Regions from separate parts of the Homo sapiens genome. Here region 2 is linked to region 1. Evidence: promoter capture Hi-C in 16 types of primary human blood cells and fetal thymus (Javierre and others, 2016). All regions are on one chromosome and are shown on one strand. The core of a region is centred on a gene start or on the middle of the fragment in contact, and the rest is flanking DNA. Distances in the headings are between cores, read along the strand shown. Region 1 holds the start of ZMAT5 (zinc finger matrin-type 5). Region 2 holds the start of OSM (oncostatin M).

The links. The method cuts DNA at HindIII sites, captures the fragments that hold promoters and counts their contacts. A CHiCAGO score of 5 or more calls a contact.
Region 2: the fragment with the promoter of OSM here is called in contact with the fragment with the promoter of ZMAT5 in region 1 in 1 of 17 cell types (neutrophils); the score reaches 5.3 in neutrophils.

The regions. Positions count from the first base shown.
Region 1 is chr22:29,764,511-29,770,296 of GRCh38, reverse strand. It overlaps ZMAT5 (zinc finger matrin-type 5), which reads left to right and starts at 3,290. Exons shown (of 6, transcript NM_001003692.2): 1 at 3,290-3,425. It overlaps UQCR10 (ubiquinol-cytochrome c reductase, complex III subunit X), which reads right to left and starts at 2,928. Exons shown (of 2, transcript NM_013387.4): 1 at 2,749-2,928; 2 at 1-619. The coding sequence starts at 2,898. The coding sequence ends at 578. RefSeq lists enhancers at 2,797-2,846, 2,756-3,405, 3,207-3,436, 3,406-4,055. The HindIII fragment of the contact is 8,045 bases long and covers 1-5,786 here.
Region 2 is chr22:30,264,744-30,270,529 of GRCh38, reverse strand. OSM (oncostatin M) reads left to right here and starts at 3,679. Exons shown (of 3, transcript NM_020530.6): 1 at 3,679-3,764; 2 at 5,386-5,528. The coding sequence starts at 3,731. RefSeq lists enhancers at 4,276-4,375, 4,436-4,515. The HindIII fragment of the contact is 8,742 bases long and covers 1-5,786 here.

The sequences.
Region 1 (5,786 bases), core at 2,041-4,540:
CATGGCCCAGGGAAGCCAAAGGATTGGATACCCCTGAACTATACCCTAGGGTGGGGAGTGGCTAAGACCCCTAGGCCAGGGTCTTTCCCCCAGCTGAGGCCATAGTGCTTCCCCATGGCCAAGACAGTGAGGTATTTAAGAATGGAATTACTGGCTTAGAAGCCAAAGTTGACTGTAATATCTCCAACTCTGGCTCCTGTTTTGAAAACCAGAATTCTTTGGAAGTTAATGGAAAACTCAAAATAGCAGATTCTGCCTTTGGGGTGTTTGCAGAGGGCTTTGAAGTGGTCTCAAATTACTGACAAGTGAAGATCAGGTAGAGTTAACAAAGCAACCAATGTAGAAGCAGGTCTCAAGGGCAATTCACATTTATTTCCTGAGCATGCTGACTAAACATACTTCAAACACAGCAGAAGGTAAAGAGTCTGTTTTGTAAGTAAAGCCGTTTCTTGCCAACAGCGAATGGTGGTCCATGAAGAGTACCTTGAGCATCATCTTCAAGCTGAGGCTCCAGCTCTGGGCAAACAGCTGCTGGGTGGACCTGGTCCTTCTGGCCTGGATGGGGGCCTCCAAGGAACTACTTGTTCTCATACTTGTGCTTGATGTGTTTCCACAGCTTCTGCATTTTAAAGACAAGAGCCACAAACTTTGACCTTTGCCTCTCACATTTTACAACTACTCCCACTGCCCTGGTCTCTAAAATGAGCTTGGGGGAAACACATGCCATGTCCTGATTAAAAAGATACACTTGTGGTGGGCAAACTCGAAGCAATCCTATGCTTGATGCACATTTTTTTTTTGAGACGGAGACTCGCTCTATCGCCCAGGCTGGAGTGTAGTGGCGCAATCTCGGCTCACTGCAACCTCAGCCTCTTGGGTTCGAGCGATTCTCCTGCCTCAGCTTCAAGAGCAGCTGGGAATACAGGTATGCGCTACCCGGCTAATTTTTGTATTTTTAGTAGAGATGGGGTTTCGCCATGTTGGCCAAGCTGGTCTCAAACTCCTGACCTCAAGTGATCTGCCTGCCTTGGCCTCCCAAAGCGCTGGGATGACAGGTGTGAGCCACCGCGCCGAGCCTTCATGCATAATTCTTGGCATTTATAAAATACTATGATGCTTTCAATCACCAGGTGAAGTAAGTGGAAAGGGGTGATCTTAATTTCACAGGAAATTCAGTTTGAGATTGAGGGAAGTGCCCCAAAACACACAATTATTAAGGAAAACAGCCTGGAAGATGTCTCAGTTCTTCAACTCCCAGGTATTACTGAAGAGATTATAAGTGCGTAGTCCCAAAATATTTCACCATGAGCCATTTAAGACATTTCCTGGGACCTAAATTGGCTGAAATTCTCATTCCCAGAAGCACAAGAGGTTGAGCACAGTGGCTCACGCCTGTAATCCCAGTACTTTAGAAGGCTAAGGCAGGAGGACTGCCTGAGCTCAGGAATTCAAGACCAGCCTGGGCAACATGGTGAAACCCCATCTCTACAAAAAATACAAAAATTAGCTGGGCGTGGTGGCGCATGCCTGTGGTCCCAGCTACTCAGGAGGCTGAGGTGGGAAGATCACTTGAACCCAGGAGGTCAAGGCTGCAGTGAGCTGTGATCATGCCACTGCACTCCAACCTGGGCGACAGAGTGAGATCCTGTCTCAAAAAAACAAAACAAAACAAAAAAAAGCACAAGGAAAATGGGTGAGTTATAACAACATACTTGGATGTCTCTCCAGATCAATGGGAGTGGTTAACAGAACCACTTGCAAGAGATGGGACAGTAGCAATGCTTTCATATGGGGCAGGAAGTTGCACTGGTCACAGGCAGCATAGCACTAGTGGACAGTGCCTTCCCGGGCTGCAGAGTCAGACAGTCTCAAATTAAAAACACAAGTGAGTGGTGGAACAGGGCTATATGTATAAGGCCTACTCCAGCACAGTCATAATTTAGCGATATAAAGCATGCACTGCACCTAGCACAGTGCATGATACATAAAAGTCAAAAATGTGTTGCGATTCCTACCTCATGCTTCCACTTTCTCCTGAGGAATGTAAGCAATGATTATTTTTCAGTGGTACCACCTACCAGGCATGTGGCACCCTGCCTGCATCTCATGTAATCCTCACAATCGTGCTCAGGTTACTATTAATATCTCCATCTCACAGTTAAAACGGAGTTCAGAGAAGAAACTTGCTCAACTTAATGCCACAGTTAAGTGACAAGGACCAGTGTTCCTATCCAAGGCTTTCTGATTTCATAGCCCCCACTCTCAACCATTAATACCAACTGTCTACGTGGGAAGCCTTGGGGACCAGAAGCGCCGTCTGAAACTTCAGCCACGGCGTCTAAGGTGTCTAACGTCCTTTTCACGACCGTCGCCTGCTCAAATCTGCCCTTGAAACTCTGAGAGACAGGGGTCCCGTTTCTGGCCCTGACTTGCCCCTGGCTTCCTGTGCAGCTAGTAAGTCCTTTGCTCTCACTAGCCTTTAGTTTTTGCTTCTGATAATGGGCAAGTGGGTATGTAGGGTGGCACACAGCAATACTTACAACCCCTGCAAAATGAAATATATTAACCTCGCTTAACGTTTTAGAATTCACATCAAGCCAAGGGGACAGACGGCGGACTCGAGACAGAAGACGCCGACGGTTTACCCCTTACCCCCTTCCTGGTAAAAGTATACTGAGTCCCATCCCACCTCTACTCCACTGTCACCCCTCAGGCGGGTCCAAGGTCAGGGATGGCACAGGCCCTCACCCCCTCGTTGATGTGGTCGTAGATAGCGTCCGCGCCTTGATCGAAGGCGCGCTCGAAGAACATGACGCCCACGATGATGGTGAGGGCGAAGGTGGAGGTCCTGCGGAACAGCAGGGAGTACAATTTCGAAGTCAACGTCGCGGCCGCCATGTTTCTTCACAGTCCAACTCGCGCCACCGCGCCTGCGCTGGGGCCGACCTCGTTCCCCAAAGGCCCTAGACGTGCAACACTTTATGGGATTTGTAGTTCCTCTGAATCTCAGCCTTCGTGTTTTGAACCACAGAGGTATTCCTATCCTGGGAATGAGGAAAAAAACTCAAAAGGTTCATATCAGGACAGCCCAGATAATCTGATAAGATTTATTACCCAATTTTTCTTCTCCAGAATTCCTGGCTGTTAGAATATGTCAAACTACAACTCCCAGAAGCCCTCGCGCGCCATCACCTTCTCCCCGCCCTCCGCCCAGTCCCGGCTTAGATTCCCAAAGCTCTCTGGGAAGGGCGAACTGATGGCCAAGGCGAGACTACGAATCCCAGCAAGCAGTACGCGACGCGAGGACGCAGGAGGAGGAGCCCGGAGCTGCAGCCACCGGGGAGCCAGGTACCTTCCGCGAGACGTCGAGGGGCGAGTCCTAGTCTCTTTTCTCCGCACTGGAAGACTTGAACACTTCCTTCTCTGTGCGTACGCCCTGCGGCGGGACGCACCATTTCTTGGGATAGGGTGTGGATAGAGGGGCGAGGGCAGCTGGGTTCCCGAGACCCTGGCTCAACTCTTCGCCTTGTCCCCTGCACCAGCCCCAAGTCTAGGCCAGGAGCTGGAGCCTGCGGCAAAAGTCTTGTCCTGGAGGTTAAACCCTTCACCCTGGATTAAGGGCAGGGACGGATCTGCCCTGCTTCCTGTTCCTCTCACCCCTGGGCTTCGCACCGGGCAACCCTGGTTTGGAAGGCTGGAGACTTGGAACCTGCTTGGGATTGAAAAGAGCAAGGGCTTTGGAGTACCTGGGGCATTCAACAGATGTTTTCCCAGCGCCTGTTCTGGTCCCTGCTCTGGGGACCCAGCAGTGAACAAAGTCCTTGCTCTCACAGAGCGCTCAATCTACGGAGTGGGCGGGTGGGGAGATGCAGTACAGCAAACAGATAGTGCTTTGGTTGACTGGAGAGGCAGTGGTGGTGACATTGCACCCTGGGTAGCTGCTCTGGGGGGTGACACTTGACTAGAGACCTGAATGAATAGTAGAGTTGAACAGGAAAACGTTGGTGCAAAGGCCTTGAGGCAGCTACAGTCCTGGGATGTTTGAGGGAAAGAAGTAGAGTGGACTGTGAAGAGGTTGACTCCGGTCAGCTCATGTCTGGCCTTGGAACCCACCTTACGGAGTCTTGTTTTCTTTGGTTTTTGTTTTTAGAGACAGGGTCTCACTGTGTTGCCCAGGCTGGTCTCCAACTCCTGGGCTCAAGCAATCTTCCTGCCTCGCCCCCCAAGGTGCGTGAGCCACCGCGTCTGGCCAAGGAGTCTTGTCTTTTTCTAGTTGCACTAGGAGGCCATTGAAGGGTTTTCAGGAGAAATGCGACAAGATTTAATGTGCACTTTAATGTCATCATCCTGGCTGGTCTATGGAGAGTGGACCGCAAGGGGGAAGTTATTGTAGTAGATCATTTGAGGGAAGATGGGTGGTTATTTATTTGAGATGGAGTCTCGGTCTGTCGTCCAGACTGGAGTGTAGTGGTGCTATCTCGGCTTACTGCAACCTCCGCCTCCCGGGTTCAAGTGATTCTCCTGCTTCAGCCTCCCGAGTGGCTGGGATTACAGGCGCCTGCCACCATGCCTGGCTAATTTTTTTTTTTAGTAGAGACAGGGTTTCACCATGTTGGCCAGGCTAGTCTCAAACTCCTGACTTCAGGTGATCCTCCCATCTTGGCCTCCCAAAGTGCTGGGATTACAGGCGTGAGCCACCATGCCCGGCCTGATGGGTGGTAATTTAGGTTAGGGTGTGGAGCAGGGCAGTGATCAGATTTGGGATGTAATTTGGGAGGGAGGGCAGACAGAGCAAGCTAGCAGATGTGTGTAGGGTGCACAGGAAAGAGGAATTGAGGAGGATATCTAAGTTTTTTTTGTTTTTTGTTTTTTGTTTTTTTTTGAGACAGAGTCTCACTCTGTGCGGCTGGAGTGCAGTGGCACAATCTTGGCTCACTGCAACCTCTGCCACCCATGTTCAAGCAATTCTCATGCCTCAGCCTACTGAATAGCTGGGATTACAAGCGGATGCCAACACGCCCAGCTCATTTTTGTATTTTTAGTAGAGACAAGGTTTCACCATGTTGGCCAGGCTGGTCTTGAACTCCTGGCCTCAAGTGATCCGCCTGCCACGGTCTCCCAAAGTGCCGGGATTACAGGTGTGAGCCACCGCGTCCAGCTGACATCTAAGTTTTGACCTCAACAATTTAAAATCAACAGAATGATCTTAAGTTCTGTTTTGGCCACATCAGTTTGAGCTAGCCAACAGACATCAAGTGGAGGTGTCTAGAGGCAAATGAGGACATGGATCTGTAGTTTAGAGGAGAGGTATGAGCCTGAGAAGAGTCATCCGGATAGGGGTGGCATTCAAAACCAGGGACTGGGCTGGGGATGGTGCCTCACACCTATAATCCCAGTGTTTTGGGAATCCAAGGCAGGAGGAACACTTGAGGCCAAGAGTTGAAGACCAGCCTGGGCCGTATAGTGAGACCGTCTCCATGAAAAACAAACTAGGGGCCAGGCGCGGTGGCTCACACCTGTAATCCCCACACTTTGGGAGGCTAAGGTGGGTGGATCACTTGAGGTCAGGAGTTCAAGACTAGCCTGGCCAACATGGTGAAACCCTGTCTCTACTAAAAATACAAAAAAATTAGCCAGGTGTGGTGGTACCCGCTTGTAATCCCAGCAACTCGGGAGGCTGAGGCAGGAGAATCGCTTGAACCTGGGAGGCGGAGGCTGCCACTAACTGAGATCGCGTCACTGCACTCCAGCCTGGGTGATGGAGCTCAAATGAAAACAAAACAAAC
Region 2 (5,786 bases), core at 2,430-4,929, 500 kb before region 1:
GGCAGAGAATTGCTTGAACCTGGGAGGCAGAGGTTGCAGTGAGCCAAGCTGGCGCCACTGCACTCCAGCGTGGGTGACAGAGTGAGATTCCATCTCAAAAAAAAAAAAAAAAGAAAAGAAAAAAAAAAAGAAGTAATTAAGGTAAAATTGGCCAGGTGTGGTAGCACATACCTGTAATCCCAGCTACTCTGGAGGCTGAGGCAGGAGGCTCGCTTAAGGCCGGGAGTTCAAGGCTGCAGTGAGCTATGAAAGCACCACTGTACACTTAAGCCTGGGCAACACAGCAAGACTTTGTCTCGAAAAAGAAAAAAAAAAGGAATAATTAAGGTAAAATGTGAGTGGGCCCTAATCCAATGTGAATGGTGTCCTCATAAGAAGAGATAAGGCCAAGCGCGGTGGCTCGCTCCTGTAATCCCAGCACTTTGGGAGGCTGAGGCAGGTGGATCACCTGAGGTTAGGAGTTCGAGATCAGCCTGGACAACATGGCGAAACCCTGTCTCTACTAAAAATACAAAAATTAGCCTGGCGTGGTGGCACACGCCTGTAATCCCAGCTACTCAGGAGGCTAAGGCAGGAGAAGCGCTTGAACCCAGGTGGCAGAGGTTGTAGTGAGCTGAGATCGTGCCACTGCACTCCAGCCTGGGTGACGGAGCTAGACTCTGTCTCAAAAAAAAAAAAAAATCGATTAGGCCACGGACAAGCAGAAGGAACATGATGTGGAGATACGGGGAGAGACAGTCATCTACAAGTCAAGGAGAGAGGCCTTGGGAACCAGCCCTTGATTTCAGACTTCAGCCTCTAGAACTGTGAGAAAATAAATCTCTGTTACGTAAGCCCCCCAGTCTGTGGTACTTTGTTATGGGAGTCCTAGCAATGTAATCTACCTGCTCTCCTTACCTTCAGTGACTCTGAGCCCTGGGCCCTGTGCCTGACACCCTCATTAACTATGTGCAAAGAGTATGGTCTTTGGGCCTCGTTTGAATGCCTTCTTTTCTTGGTGGGTTTTTTGTTTTTTGTTTTTTTTAAACAGGGCCTTGCTCTGTCACCCAGGCTGGAGTCCTGTGGCATGATAATGGCTCACTGCAGCCTCAACCTTCGGGGCTCGAGCGATCCTCCTGCCTCAACCTCCCTAGTAGCTGGGACTTCAGGTATGCACTACGATGTCTGGATAATTTATTTTTACATTTTCTGTAAAGACACAGTCTCGAAGTCCTGGGCTCAAATGACCCTCCTGCCTCGGCCTCCCAAAGTGCTGGGATTACAGGCGTGAGCCACCATGCCTGGCCAAATGCCCCTCTCCTCTTAACTATTCATAGGTGACCTCAGACAAAGCAACCTCCTCTCTCTGCCATGAGGAGACAGCACGGCCTCCCTGGACCACAGGATAGATAGAATAAGATAAAGGCATGTGGCTGTTTCTCACCAAGCGTGGTGGTCGGTCAGCCACAGCTGAAAATGGCCTAGACCCCTCTGCTCAGATCTGGCGCTCCTTCCTTGAGCCAGCCCCTAAACTTCCCAGAGCTTCGAGCTCCTCACTGAAGTGAGCTGAGGTGTCACTGCCCAGCGGCTTCTCTCCCCTGGCTGTTGCAGGATGAGATCGGTGGCTGGGTGCTGTGGCTCACGCTTGCAATCCCAGCACTTTGGGAGGCCAAGGCAGGAGGATCATTTGAACCCAGGAGTTTGTTATCAGCCTGGGCAACATAGTGACACCCCGTCTCTACAAAAAATAAAAAAATTAGCTGGGCATAGTGATGCATGCCTGTGGTCTCAGCTACTCAGGAGACTAAGGCGGGGAGCCTTGCTTCAGCTTAGGAGCTGGAGGCCACAGTGAGCTACCTACAATGGCGCCACTGCACTCCAGCCTGGGTGACAGAGCAAGATCCTGCATTTAAAAAAAGAGAAAAAAAGACGAGATCAGGGATGTGAAATGGAGAAGGATCCCCTCTTGGCATGGCCCCAGGAAACAGCATTGTGGGGGTGGGCACAGAGATGAGGACTTCAGCGGAAGCGACATTCTCAGGATGAGAATCCAGAACTGGCCCCTGGGGGTGGTGAGGGGGAGGTATGAGGCCTGGTGTGGTGAGTCCCAGCCTGGGTGCCGGGGAGTGGGTAGGGGCTGAAGAGCAGCCTCCTGGGCGTGGGGTCGCCTATTTTTGCCTACTACGTGATCCTCAGACCTGGGAGTGGCTGGTGCAGCATGGAGCCAAATAAAGGTTTGTCGAATGAATAAATGAGTGATGGGGAGAATGGGTGGCAACTGCCTTGGTGGCCACAGTGGGCATCGGGAGCAGGCATGGACAGGGGTGCATCCAACCTCCTCCTTTCTGGCTGCCCCAGCTCTCCTTGCTCAGGCGCCCCAGACCCCATGCTCCCTCCAGCTGGAGCAGCTCAGGCCTCCCTGGCAGCCTCCAGGAGTCCCACCCTGACTCCCCAGACTCCTGAGGGCCTCCTCCCACCCGGGCTTCTTAGGGTGCAGGCCAAGGACCCTCCTCTGGGCCTGGGAGATGTGCTGACCAGGCAGGGTCTATAGGCCTGGGCCAGCCTCTTGGCCTCCCTGTCTGCCTTCACCCAGGCCTCAGTTTACCCCACAGTAAAGTAGCAGTTTGACTAGGGAGGCGCTGTTCCCAGGGCCCTTTCGCAGAGGACCAACCTAAGATCGCTATCTTTCAGAGAAAGTGAAACCTGGTCCCCAACTGTCAAGGCGGCAACTCCCCCTCCCCGGCTTCCCCTCTGAGCTCACAGCTTCCCCATCTCCTCCTTCCCCCATCCCGCCCCCTCGACAGCTAATACTTGGAATCAGACCTTCATCTTTGCTTTTTCCTTCAGAGGTCTTTTCCTTTTATGTCCATGCTGGCAGCAACCCTGTGAGGTGGGCTGGGAAAGGCTTTTCTCCTCCTCATTTTATAGTTGTGGGTCTCTGAGGCCCAGAGAGGTTAAGTGACTTGCCTCAGGTCACACAGCACCTCAGCAGGCTTGAACCCTGGCCTCCTGTTTCTCTTGCTCCAAGTGTCCAGTTCTCCCCAGTGGAGCCTGCCTACAAAGACAAGGCCTGGCTTTGGGGAGTGGGCCTGGCAGAGGGTGCACGATGGGGGAAAGGAGACCGTCGGGAGCCGGGCTGGGGGATGCTGGTCCTGGGGCCTGAACCACAATCTCGGGGCTGCCAGCCTGCGTCTGGCTCTGTGCCCAGAGCCCGGTGGTTTCCGCTCACAGATGTCCCAACAGCCCCGGCGAGAGGGCAGGAAGGGCACTCAAGAAGGAAGATGTCTCGCTCCCCTCAGCCCCCAACCACCGTGTCCTGTGAGGCCAATGGCTCCTGGGCCAAGACTGGCCTGGGGCCTCCAGAGGCCCAGCTCGAAGTCCCTCCTGCCCATCCCTGGCCCAGTTCCCTGAAGATGGCATGGACCCTTTTCCTCCCCACTCACCCTAGGAAGGCTGAGGCTGCGGTTTTACATCATCCTTGGGCGTAGGGCTGACCTCGAAGAACGAATTCGAAGAAAACAGGAGGAGGAGCGGGCATACACCGCGCCCTGCGCCCATTGGCCGCCCGTGGAAATTTTGGTTTTTGGGGTCATGTTCCCAGAAGGCCTGCCCTCCCCCCTCCCCATCCCCACCCACCTCATGAGGTGTTGGCCAATCGCCCCAGCGGGCATAAAGTGGCTGCCAGCCTGCAGGGCTCCCAGCCGAGAGGTGTCACCCCCAGCGGGCGCGGGCCGGAGCACGGGCACCCAGCATGGGGGTACTGCTCACACAGAGGACGCTGCTCAGTAAGTACTTCCTTCCTCCCCGCCAGAACCCGCCTGCTGGGTCTGCCCACGGGTGCCGGTGGGGAGCAGAGGCACCCTCTGCCCTCCGGGAACTGGGGAGGCCAGGCGCCAGGCAGAAGGATGCTGAGAAGGGGAGAGAGCCAGGAGGTCAGGCAGAGAGAGTGGTCCACTGAGAACCTGGCATCTCCACAGGTAGAGAAGGGGCATCCCTGGAAGGCTTCCAGGGGGAGGTGATGTCAAGATGTAGAGGCAACTCTGGGAACCAGGGGGTGAGAGAATAGGATGGGCAAAGAGGCTGGGCAGGAGAGGGAGGCTCAGAAGCTGGGCAGGGAAGTGGTGTGAGGTGTGGAGGGGTTGTGGGGCCTCCAGCTTGCCCGGGATGAATAGAAAGTCAGCCAGGCCTGGGGGCCCCAGGGCCCACACAATCACACAGCATGCACAGCCACACCCACATGGCCACATGCGCACACAGCCATATGACGTCATCTACAGCCCTGGATCTCACCAGCCCAGGAACCCCCACATGCAGACCAGAGTCCCCATGGTGAACGGAACAGGTCTCCCTCACGCCGCACACAGACCCAGATGCACAGCCACACAGAAACCCCAGTCCCACGTGCGCTGCCACAGGCACAGGCCCCTGCCAGAGCCCGGCAGCAGATACCTGGGGAGGCGGCGAGGGTGCCGTGGGGTCGCTAAGCCTGGGTGCCTGGCCCCTTGGCCCTCCCCAACAGCCAGTCTTCCCCAAAGGGCCGGATGGTTCTTAGGACGGGAACGATGGTGTCACTGCCTTCCGGGCCATTGCGCCATAGGCCCCTTCCGACCACGTGGCTGCCGGTGCCCCGTTGGGGGTGGTGGTGAGCGGTAACTGTACCCGCCCCCAACACCTTCTGACAGGCTCACAGCATCCCTGGTGGGCCTGACAGAAGGAGCCACTTATGGAGAGAGGAGGGAGGCAAGAGAGGTCAGGGGAGAGCCCTGGCCTTGTGTGACCTGAGTAGGACCTTCTCCTGAGACTTGGTTTACCTGTCAGGAAAGTGGGGACATGGACTGGAAGGTCTTCCACATCTGTTCCAGGCTGCACCTCTGGTTGAAAAGGCAGCCTCTCCTGGTTCTAGACAGAGCTGAGGACACAAGCTGCTCCCGGGCTGCCTGCCCTGAAGCCCTCTCAGGCCCATCTACCTGGATGGCCAGAGCAGCTGACAAGGCAGGTCCTAGGGCAGTGGCCGGTCTTTAGCCCAGTGGTCTTGCAGGGAGCCAGTCCCACCTTGCAGAGAGTCAGCTCCCGAGGTTAGAACCGTGCTGTAGGCAGGACTGGGATCCGGCCAGGCACTGCAGCCTTTGCTCAAAGACCTACTTGGTAAATCGCAGCCACTGTCTCAGTCCCTCCCACTGCTTGCTGTGTCAGGCCCTGGGCAGTGACTTACTGGGGAGATGATGGTGGCCTTGGTGGGCACACCTGGGCACACACCGTGCCACACAGTGCCCAGCCCCCGCCCTCCACTACACAAAGTCTGGGATGAAGGAGGCACCTTTCAAGGCCCTCTTGAACCCCCTCCCCGAGGCTCCCATCTGTGGCTTTCCTCACCAAGTCAGGTGACACCCCTCTTCTCTGCCTTAGGTCTGGTCCTTGCACTCCTGTTTCCAAGCATGGCGAGCATGGCGGCTATAGGCAGCTGCTCGAAAGAGTACCGCGTGCTCCTTGGCCAGCTCCAGAAGCAGACAGATCTCATGCAGGACACCAGCAGACTCCTGGACCCCTATGTAAGCACCTGGGCCCTTGTGGCATCTGAGTCTCAGAGAACTATGGGGTTAGGAAGGGAGTGAGAAGCAGGGAGGACAGGCCTAGCCCCACTCCATATGGCCAGGTCGGGGAACTGAGTCGCTATGTTATTCCAGCCTTAACCCTGAGGAGCTAAGGCTGGCCCTCCAGCTTTCCTAGCTCTGTGGTCCCGGGGCGGGACTCCGGACACCATCACCATGCTCACCTGCTTACTCAGTGTGTTTCCTGCACACCTGCCA